Linked DNA regions of Homo sapiens: region 2 is linked to region 1. Evidence: promoter capture Hi-C in human tissues and cell types (Jung and others, 2019). All regions are on one chromosome and are shown on one strand. Each heading gives the region's core, a stretch centred on a gene start or on the middle of the fragment in contact. The rest is flanking DNA. Distances are from core to core; before and after follow the strand shown.

The links. The method cuts DNA at HindIII sites, captures the fragments that hold promoters and counts their contacts. A contact is called where the count stands out against the background at its distance.
Region 2: a fragment that was not itself captured here is called in contact with the fragment with the promoter of ARHGEF17 in region 1 in 1 of the 25 tissues and cell types used here (spleen).

The regions. Positions count from the first base shown.
Region 1 is chr11:73,305,722-73,311,086 of GRCh38, forward strand. ARHGEF17 (Rho guanine nucleotide exchange factor 17) reads left to right here and starts at 2,555. Exons shown (of 21, transcript NM_014786.4): 1 at 2,555-5,365. The coding sequence starts at 2,918. ARHGEF17-AS1 (ARHGEF17 antisense RNA 1) reads right to left here and starts at 3,640. Exons shown (of 3, transcript NR_147696.1): 1 at 2,951-3,640; 2 at 2,161-2,843; 3 at 1,790-1,835. RefSeq lists silencers at 1,927-2,066, 2,467-2,796, 3,027-3,246 and enhancers at 2,667-3,544, 3,550-4,370. The HindIII fragment of the contact is 12,473 bases long and covers 1-5,365 here.
Region 2 is chr11:73,658,780-73,664,144 of GRCh38, forward strand. It overlaps PLEKHB1 (pleckstrin homology domain containing B1), which reads left to right. Exons shown (of 8, transcript NM_021200.3): 7 at 1,974-2,073; 8 at 2,687-4,040. The coding sequence ends at 2,823. Among named protein-coding and RNA genes, the nearest start is that of PLEKHB1, 15 kb to the left of the region's middle. RefSeq lists enhancers at 1,502-2,346, 2,347-3,189 and a silencer at 2,252-2,423. The HindIII fragment of the contact is 5,172 bases long and covers 433-5,365 here.

The sequences.
Region 1 (5,365 bases), core at 1,305-3,804:
ACTCCTCTCTATCCACTTGCCCATCTGTGATATGGGATAAGGGTTTCTGTCCCAGAACTGACAGGGAGGTGGAAAAGTACAAATTTCAGATAGTAAGAGTCATCATTATGGGGGGAGAGAGTGACTCCTGGGATGAGAGTCCTGTCCCCCACCCCTCCACAACCCACCCCTCCACAACTCACCCCTCCACAACTCACCCCTCCCCAACTCACCCCTCCACAACTCACCCCACAGCACACACCAAAACTTGCCCCAAAGAGCAGAAAGAAAATACTAAAGGAGGTGAGAGTCTGACATCAAATGCCAGAGCCAGAGAGGGCACTCTTGGGGAACCTGAACCACTCCTCACTTTTCAGACACCCCACTCCTCACTTTTCAGACACCAGCAAGTGCAGGGATTTACCCAAGGTCACAGAGTAAGGCCGAACAGAGAGGCACAGGCCAGCAGGGCTCTCTTTTATCAATTTCCTAGAGAAAAGGGAGAGATTTACTCCTTGGCCCCCTTGAGGCAGAGCTGAGATGAGGTTGAGGTGAGGGACTCCCTGGATGCTGGTCTCAACACAGAGAGGAAGCACTTTCTTGCTACAGAGATATTCCACAACTCAAGAGGCTGCCCAGAGAGTGGAGAGTGACCTCCTCATCCTGTGGGGTATATGAGTAGCAAGCAGGTTCTGGAGTCCCGGCTGAGTCCTCTCTCTCTCATTCGGTAGTCAGGCAATCCCTGGGTGTCTACCATCCTTTCCTATCCTCCTGCCTGCCCCTCTCCTCTGAACCCCGTCTCCTAGCCTAGTCTGGCCCAGCTACATCTCCTTGGCTGGACCTGGTGGCAGTGGGGTTGGCTGGGTAATGCACAGACTGCTGACCTAACTATGTGTCCCCGAGGCCTTGCTACTGGGGGTTGGAGGGGCCAGGGCAGTTTGACCAGGCCTGAAGAAGGCTGGGCAGCGCTGGAGGGGCATGGGTCAGACCAGGTTATCCTCTGTTCCTGAGGAGAGTGAGCTCAGGCCCAAGGAGGAGAAGGAGGAGACTGGGGGCTCAAAGGAACGAGAACCTCCTTCTTCATCAGGATTTGGGGGTGCATCTCAGAGCTGGCTGGAGGAGCATGGTGTTTGAAGCCCCTGAAATCTGAATTTTAGCAGGAGCTGCTATTTCCTGACTTGCATAGTGGTCAAAGTTACTTCTCCTTCACGGTCCACAGAGAAGGGGTAATAATATTTGTCCCCAAGGGTGGTTTGTGGATTTTAAAAAATAAGTTAAATAATATTGCCCATACATTATAGGTACTCCATACATTTTCATTCGTTCGTTCATTCGTTAGTTGGGCCGGGAGGATGAATGGGATCTAGAGGCAGGTGGGAATGCGGAAGGGGATGATGCCCCAATACCGAGAACAATGTGAGACTCAGACGGAGGCAGGGGCGGGAGGGGAGCTCAAGCGAGGGATCAGCGTGAAGCCAGAGAAACAACCGACACTTTTCCTGCCAAGAAGGTGAAGCAGCTGCGGGTAAGAGTATAGGTTTGGCAGTGGGAAGTCGAGGGCGTTCCCGTCGAAGCTCCTTTTGTGTATAAGGCCTAAGAAGGGGCAGTGCGCTTTGCGAAGGTCTGAAAAAGACTAAGGGGATTAGGTAACGACTGAAAGGAAGTTTTCACAACTCTCCGTTTTTGGGGGATGGGTGCTGCTTTATCCGTCCAGGACTCCGTGCGTTGGGAAAATCACGCCGCGAGGGGGCGCAAGAGCCGCGTACTCCAGAGCAAGAAGAAAAGGCTCGGGGATCCAGGCGGAGAGTCCAGGAGAAGAGCCGCCAGACTGCAGGGGCAGGTGGAAGGCGTGGCAGCTGGAAAAGTAGGGGTGGGGGCGCGGTCGTGAAGGGTGGGACTTCTGGAGCAACGCTGGGCGGGTTGGGGGCCGGTCGGAGCCGGACAGGCGGCTGGGAGGTGGGATGGGCGGGGCGCTTGGGAGCGAGATGGGGGGACAAGGGCGTGGCTACAGCTAAATTCGCCGCAGAGGGCGGGCGGGGAGGGGGAGGGAAGGGGAGGAGGCGTGGCCTGGGCGGGGAGTAGGGCGCGACGGACCCTTCAGTTAGCCCGCGGCTCCCCGGGCTCTCCCTGGCGCCGAGTCCCACCCCTTTCCCGGCCCAGAGAGTGTGCGTCTGCGTGCACCTGAGTGTCAGTGTGTACGAGAGTTTGTGAGTCCGAGGTTGCCATGTTGGAGCCCCTGGGCAGGAGGTGTTTCCGCGCGGAGGCTGGTGGCCCGCGGTGGACGCGGCGCCCTGGCTGCGAGTCTGCGGAGCTGAGCACGCTCAGCGGTTGTGTGTGTCTCAGCGACTCCCTGGGGGCAGCTCGGCCTGCTGGGCTCCCGAGGGACCTCTCTGGAGGGCCAGAGGGTCGCCTCAGTCTGCAAGTCCTCCAGCAGGCTTTTTCTTCTTCGGCTCCTCCCTGATTCCCTCCCACCACGCGGTTCCCAGGCTCGCGCACGCCCGGAGCCCACCCCCTCTTTTGGGCGCGAGGCCCCGCCCCCCGCCCCCTTGCCTCTGCCGCAAAGTTTATTTGCAACAAAAGGGTGCCAGGAGCGAGCAGCCAAGGGCGTTGGGCAGGCGGACGCAGAGTCGAGGAACCAAGCGCTGGGATCCCGCCCAGGCGGTGCCGCGGTGCCCCTGGTCGCTCCAGCCGCGGCGGGGGCTGGGCCTGGGGGTCGGCGCTGAGGCGGGAGGGGCCGCCCGGGATGGAGACGTTGCGGCCGGTGGCCACAGAAACTTGAGCCGCGGCAGAGAAACCTCTGCTCCGGTCTCTGCGTCCTCTTCCCACACTCCCGTGCGCTGCTTTCGGCGTGGGCCGCTGCGCTCCTAGGGAGTGGGGGCGCAGGGGGGGTTGGCCGCGGCTGCCCGAGGCCAGCCCCCCCGGAGTGAGTTACGCCACTATGGCGGACGGGGCACCCCGGCCCCAGCTTTACCGCAGCGTCTCGTTCAAGCTGCTGGAGCGCTGGAGCGGCGGCCCCGGGCTGAGGGAGGAGGACACGGACACCCCCGGCTTGAGGCGACGCGCCTCGTGCCGGCCGACCACGGCTGCCCGGGGCCAGCCCTCTCGGCGCGTGTCCAAGCTGGCGTCTGGGCCCCTGGCCGCCCCCGCGCAGCCGCGCCCGCTCCGCAGCCTCTCGCCGTCGGTTCGCCAGCTCTCCCGGCGCTTCGACGCGCCGCGTCTGGACGACGGCTCCGCTGGGACCCGAGACGGAGGCGTCTTACCCGCGGCCGCGGAAGAAGCGGCCGAGGGCCCAGCGCGAGGAGCCTGGCCCAGCGTCACCGAGATGCGCAAGCTCTTCGGCGGTCCTGGCTCCAGGAGGCCCAGCGCCGACTCTGAATCCCCAGGAACGCCCAGCCCCGACGGTGCCGCGTGGGAGCCTCCGGCTCGGGAGTCGCGGCAGCCACCGACGCCACCCCCTCGGACATGCTTCCCCCTGGCGGGTCTGCGTTCGGCGCGGCCCCTGACCGGGCCGGAGACCGAAGGGAGGCTGCGCCGGCCGCAGCAGCAACAGGAGCGGGCGCAGCGTCCAGCGGATGGTTTACATTCTTGGCATATCTTCTCCCAACCGCAGGCCGGGGCCCGGGCCTCCTGCTCCTCCTCCTCCATCGCCGCCTCCTATCCTGTCAGCCGCAGTCGTGCTGCCAGCTCCAGCGAGGAGGAAGAGGAGGGCCCGCCGCAGCTGCCTGGAGCCCAGAGTCCGGCCTACCACGGCGGCCACTCCTCGGGCAGTGACGACGACCGAGACGGTGAGGGCGGCCACCGCTGGGGAGGGAGGCCCGGGCTCAGGCCTGGAAGCTCCCTATTGGATCAGGACTGCAGGCCTGACAGTGATGGGTTAAATCTAAGCAGCATGAACTCAGCAGGGGTTTCTGGGAGCCCTGAGCCCCCAACATCTCCAAGAGCCCCTAGAGAAGAAGGACTCCGGGAGTGGGGTAGTGGCTCTCCGCCCTGCGTCCCAGGTCCCCAGGAGGGACTTCGGCCTATGTCTGACTCTGTGGGAGGAGCTTTCCGTGTGGCCAAGGTGAGCTTTCCCTCGTACCTGGCCAGCCCCGCAGGCTCCCGCGGTAGCAGCCGTTATTCCAGCACGGAGACCCTCAAGGACGACGACCTATGGTCTAGTAGGGGTTCTGGGGGCTGGGGCGTGTACCGCTCCCCTAGCTTTGGAGCTGGGGAAGGGCTCCTGCGGTCCCAGGCTCGAACCCGTGCCAAAGGACCTGGAGGCACCTCTAGGGCATTGAGGGATGGAGGATTTGAGCCTGAAAAGAGTCGACAGCGGAAGTCCCTGTCAAATCCAGATATCGCCTCAGAGACCCTGACGCTTCTCAGTTTCCTGCGCTCAGACCTTTCAGAGCTGAGGGTCCGAAAACCTGGTGGGAGCTCCGGGGACCGTGGAAGCAACCCCCTAGATGGCAGAGACTCACCATCCGCAGGTGGCCCTGTGGGGCAACTTGAACCCATACCCATCCCAGCCCCAGCATCACCTGGCACGCGCCCCACACTCAAGGACTTGACAGCCACTCTGCGGAGAGCAAAGTCATTCACCTGCTCTGAGAAGCCCATGGCCCGCCGCCTGCCCCGCACCAGTGCTCTGAAGTCCAGCTCCTCCGAGCTCCTGCTCACAGGCCCTGGTGCCGAGGAGGATCCGCTGCCCCTCATCGTCCAGGACCAATATGTGCAGGAGGCCCGCCAGGTTTTTGAGAAGATCCAGCGCATGGGTGCCCAACAAGATGATGGAAGCGATGCCCCCCCTGGAAGCCCTGACTGGGCAGGGGATGTGACCCGAGGGCAGCGGTCCCAGGAGGAGCTCTCAGGCCCTGAGTCCAGTCTGACAGATGAAGGCATTGGGGCAGACCCTGAGCCTCCTGTTGCAGCATTTTGCGGCCTGGGTACCACAGGGATGTGGCGACCTCTTTCCTCATCCTCGGCCCAGACGAACCACCATGGCCCTGGGACTGAGGACAGTCTGGGCGGGTGGGCCCTGGTGTCGCCTGAGACCCCTCCCACACCAGGTGCCCTCCGCCGACGACGCAAAGTCCCACCTTCAGGTTCTGGTGGGAGCGAATTGAGCAATGGGGAGGCAGGGGAGGCCTACAGGTCCCTGAGTGACCCAATTCCTCAGCGCCACCGGGCTGCCACCTCTGAAGAGCCTACTGGGTTCTCTGTGGACAGCAACCTCCTGGGCTCACTGAGCCCCAAGACAGGGCTCCCTGCCACCTCAGCCATGGATGAGGGCTTGACCAGTGGTCACAGTGACTGGTCTGTGGGCAGTGAAGAGAGCAAGGGATATCAGGAGGTTATTCAGAGCATAGTTCAGGGGCCTGGCACCCTGGGGCGTGTGGTGGACGAC
Region 2 (5,365 bases), core at 1,769-4,268, 350 kb after region 1:
CTAATTTTTTAATTTTTTGTAGAGACAGGTTCTTGCCATGTTGCCCAGACTGGTCTTGAACTCCTGCATTCAAGCAATCCTCCCGCCTCAGCCTCCCAAAGTGCTGGGATTACAGGCATAAGCCGCTGTGCCTAGCCTTTCTTGATTTGAGTGCATGGTGATGGCATGTACTGAGAGAAGCATTTATGGGGCTGGGTACTTTGGGAGGCCAAGGCGGGCAGATCACCTGAGGTCAGGAGTTCAAGACCAGCCTGGCGAACATGGTGAAACCCTGTCTCTACTAAAAATACAGAAAAATTAGCCAGGCGTGGTGGCAGGAACCTGTAATCTCAGTTACCTGGGAGGCTGAGGCAGGAGAATCGCTTGAACCCGGGAGGCGGAGGTTGCAGTGAGCTGATACCATGCCATTGCACTCCAGCCTGGACAACAAGAATGAAACTCTGTCTCAAAAAAAAAAAAAAGATTTATGGGAAAAGCAACAGTTTTAGCAGATGGAGAAATGTTGCAATCATCTTGAGATGAGTGGAGTTTGAGACACCTGGACTTCTAAGGGGAGCTGGACTGTTCAGGTGTGAATCCCAGTTAGAGAGAGATACAGGGTGGAATGGGGCTAAGAGGAAAGATCCAGAAGAGAAGGGGATCCTGACCCCTCTCCAGGTCTGCTCCCCCATGGGTAAAATGAGGGGTTTGGAGTTTCCATTTAATTCAGCACATAGTTCTTGGTTCCTGGTATGCACTTGGCCCTGCTGGTGACACAAACAAATCAGAGTCCTTGTCTACAAGCAGCTCACATTTGGGCTGCAAGAAAGGCCAGGAGAAAGGATAGCAACAAGAGGCACAAGCAAGATCCACAGAATTCAGGGAAAAAAAAAATTCTTCCTGAGACCAGGAGAGCTTCCTGGAGTGGAGTGGGTGACCGTTGAGCTAGGCTTTGAAGGGTTGGCAGAAATCTAATGGGAGAGAGGGGAGGGCAGGGAATGCATTCCAGAGAGAACACTGACCATTCTCTGAGCCTCAGTCCCCAACCCTATGGTCATGTGGAGCTAATACCTGCTTTAAGGATTAGAGGTGGTGTAACACACGTGATCACTTCCTTCAGGACCTGGTACATAGTAGGTGCTCAATAATCGTTACAGCCTAGTGCAGCCTAACAATTTTGGGTCAATGATGGACCACATATACAAAGGTGGTTCCATAAGATTATAATGGAGCTGAAAATTTCCTATCACCTAGTGATGTTGTAGCCATGATAATGTCGTAGGGCAATGCATTACATTTTCTACATTTATATATGATTAGTTAGATAACAAATACCATTGTGTTACAATTGCCTACAGTATTCAGGGCAGTAGCCTGCTGAACAGGTTTGTTGGCTTGGAGCAATAGGATATACCATATACTCTAGGTGTGTGCCACCTAGGTTTGTTTGTAAGTACACTCTATGATATTCACATAACTAAAATTGCCTAAGGACGCATTTCTCAGACTGTATCCCTGTTGTTTAAAAGACGCATAACTGTATTTTAGTTACTTCTCATCCCTATCCTTCCTTTCCCTTCCTTCCTCCCCAACCCCTGTTTATTTCCTGGGCCTGGGGCTTGGCCATGTTCCCCTCCTTGTGACTAGTAGAGCTGGGTCTTTCAAGTGGCATTATTGTAGAGCTGCTAGCAAATATTAGACTACCTATAAGGAGAAATTGGGAGCCATAGAGAATTTTTTGAGCTAGGTGGGAGGCCAGAGTTGGAGAATGGGTGTCACTGGGAGCTGGATGTAGGGCAGAAGTTTTAGAGGACCGTGGACCTTGTGGGGAGGGCAGGGCCTTTCTCCAAGAGCTTGCTAGTGGCTGGAGGCCCATTTCTAAACTTGGGGAGGTGGCTCCATGGATCCCAGAGAGGCCTGTGCCAGGCGTGGGGGTAGGGGACCAAATCCGGGCCAGGGAGTTCCTGGGCACCTGACATGGTTGGATTCCCCAGGTGCGCGTCTACAGCCCGTACCAAGACTACTACGAGGTGGTGCCCCCCAATGCACACGAGGCCACGTATGTCCGCAGCTACTACGGACCGCCCTACGCAGGTAAGTCTCCAGCGTGCCCCGGGGCTTGCCTCGATCCAGCACCGATTCAGCGCCAGGCCCAGCCCACGGTCCGTAAGTCCGGACCAGGCTTCATCCTTTTAGCGTGCACGGATTTTCCCAGGCAGAACTCTCCGCAAGCCCCTCTCCATCCTGAGACTGGGAGAGCTCTGGAACCAGCGTTCGTCTCGAGCTGACCTCACCCTTCTGGGATGGCTCCTCAGCCCTGCGGTCGGCAATACCCATTCCTGAGCCGGTAGCGGCCCCTGGTGGCTACTGCGGGAATGCTGCCTCCTCCCCGCTCTGGGGCCTGGCGGTTGGGAATGCCCATCGTTAGGCGCCTGGTGGTTGTGCTTAGCGATCTCAGGGTTTCCTCGCTGCTCCGCCCTAGCCTGCCGTAGCGGACCCGTAGGTTCCGGGACATCCGTAGCCGATCCAAGGCCTGGGAGCCGTAGGGTGGAGCTCTTCCCGCGTCTAGATCTGTTCTTTGACTGGGGAGCAGGAGAGTGGGTTCGGCGCCTTACACTGGGTTGGGCTGGAGTGATGCAGGAAGGGTACGAAGATCACTCTACTCCCTCCTAAGTCGCTGATCCTCATGGGCTGTCTCCCTCTGCAGGCCCTGGCGTGACGCACGTGATAGTGCGGGAGGATCCCTGCTACAGCGCCGGCGCCCCTCTGGCCATGGGCATGCTTGCGGGAGCCGCCACTGGGGCGGCGCTGGGCTCGCTCATGTGGTCGCCCTGCTGGTTCTGAGCCCTGGGACTCGGAGCACTGACCCCTGCGCTTGGATTGCTAGACTCCTCTTCCTCCTGGACCCCATCCTCTACCATCCAAGCCCTGTCCCACTTTGGCCCTATCCTCTCCATTAGCTCCTTCCGGGTTTGGACCATTCCCCCCACTCCCTACCCTTAATCCCCACATGGGAAGAAGCTATCATCACAGGTACAAACATCGCTTGAAGTCTTCACATCTACCACTAGACACCCCCAAAATCTGTTATAGACATTTATGGATACATTTCCTCTAAACACAACAGGGCACAGCAAATACGACTTCATTTGGCTTCGAGTTCCCCAGGCGCTGTAGACACAACATGAATCGGGCTCTCTGCTCTCTCCTTAGGGAGCTCGAGTCCTGGTGGGGAGAACAGGAGTAAACAAGGACTTGACAAAGCTGAAGAGTTATCAGTCCTTTGACAAGGACAGGTGGGGCAGGGAGCAAGACAGGTAGGCTGGAAGAACAGTTATTGGCAAGTATGCAGAGCCGTGAACGTCATGGCATGTCCAAGGAATTAAATGGGAGTTCATTTGGGCTGGGGTGGAGGCTGGGATCAGACCGTGGTGGGCCTTCAAGCTAAGGAGCTTCCTAGGTGAAAGGGGAGATGTGAGCCTTCTCTGGAGGGAAGTTTCATGATTGCATCTATAATGAATATATTGCCTGTTTTGTGAATACTGACACATGTCCATACCTAAAACACTCCTGAGTCAAGTCCCATCCTTCCCACAAACAGCTTCCTGGCTGGTACCCATGATAACAATTGAGCTGAACCTGGGGACCCCTGGTTGGGGAACAGGTGAGTTCTATTTGAGACTTCCAGCCCTAGAAAGCTGCCTCCGTCCAGAAATGCCTCTCACACCAGGAGCTCGGCCCTCTCTTTGTAGCTGTGACTGTCACCCTCTCAGGCTTTGTCTCATCCTTCATTCTGAATAAGATGGCAGTGTTCTCCTCTGGGGCCTGATCCACCTCTACACCAGCCCAGGAAGCCCCATCTGTGCCTGCCCTCAGGTGGTCCACCAGTCTCCCCCTTTGGTTCCCTTCCAGTCTCTTCCCCCTTTCTATCCCAATCACCAATAGAAATGCTAACATCCCTGCCTGGTAGCCAGACTAGCCCACTAAAGCTCCCCTGTAAATGGGGGCTCCATTAGTTCTGCTGCCGAGACTAATAAAGATTTGGTTGGCTCTAGCAGTAACTGTGGCTTGCTTTGTTCCCCCAGAAGGCCCTGTTTCCCTCTCCATGATCCAGCAGCTACTAGTGCCTTCACTGGTCTAGTGAAAAAGAGTGTGGATTCTGAGATCAGTTGGAACTGGTGACAGCATATTAGCTGAGTCATTTGGGGCAAGTCACTTAACCTTTCTGGATTTTGTTTTCCCTACACTTAAGGTAGCTGGTTGAAGTTGACCATTCCTGAGGGCTCAAGAGGAGGGACTGCCTTGGAGTCTCTGTTGTCTGAGCTGATGGATGATCCAAGCCAGGTCCTGCCTGCTTTCTGAGAATCCTGTTCATGTTGGAGTCTTTTCCAGTAGGTTCCCATCCTTCTAGAGTTGAATCAATGAATTGTTCTCATAGAAAACCAGGTGGTCAGGAAAGGAAACACCATCATCCTGCATCAGGCTTCTTGGGGCTGTCAGATAGAAACTCCCTGTTCAAACTGATTTAAGCCAAAGGGAAAAGGTTAAGCCACATAACTGAGAAGTCCAAGAGCTGTGTGATCCAGGGGCTCAAAGAGTGTCACTTAGACTTTGCTTTGTTTCCATCTTTACACCTGCAGGGCTGGCTCATTTGGAAGCTGCAGTGATGTTCAGCAGCTCCAGGCTAATGCCCTCCTGAGTTCAAGTCCAACCAAGAGAATTTCTCTTCCTCTAACAGTATGACTGAAAGTCCTGGGCCTGGTAGACATCAGTCTAAATTGGGTCCTGTGGCCATCCCTGCATCAACCCCAGTGGTCTGGAAACGGATGGTCTAAAATAACAGGGCTTACAGCAGGGGTGGGATGGTGTCCCAGAGGAAATTCAGGGCACTGTTCCCAGAAGTAGGATGAATAGATGAAAGCTGGTTGGCAAAAATATCAGGTATTCACCTCAGCCACAGTTCCAGAGACACCAACTTAGAGGTGAGACATGTATAAAAACAGCAATGATTGAATGAAGTTACAGAGGAACGTGGTGCAGTTGGAGCTCTGAAGAGGAGGCATGCAACTCTGCCAAGGGAACTAGGGAAAGCTTTGGGACAGGAAGTGGAAATTTATTTTGAACCTTGAAAAATGAGTAGGAGTTTGCCAATCTGAAAAAGTTGGGAGAGCTTTCCACACAGAGAACAGATGGAAGAAATGGTATGAGCAAAGGCATTAGAGGCTTGAGAGCACCCTGAAGTTCAGGAACCAGTCTCATGCTATAGCAGGTCGCATGGTGAGAGGTGGTGGATGAGGTCAAACTATAAGGAACCTCTTGGGCCAGGCTACTGAACACAGGGCATAGTCCAGTATGTGGCCCCGGCTTAAGGACAAGCATGGATGCA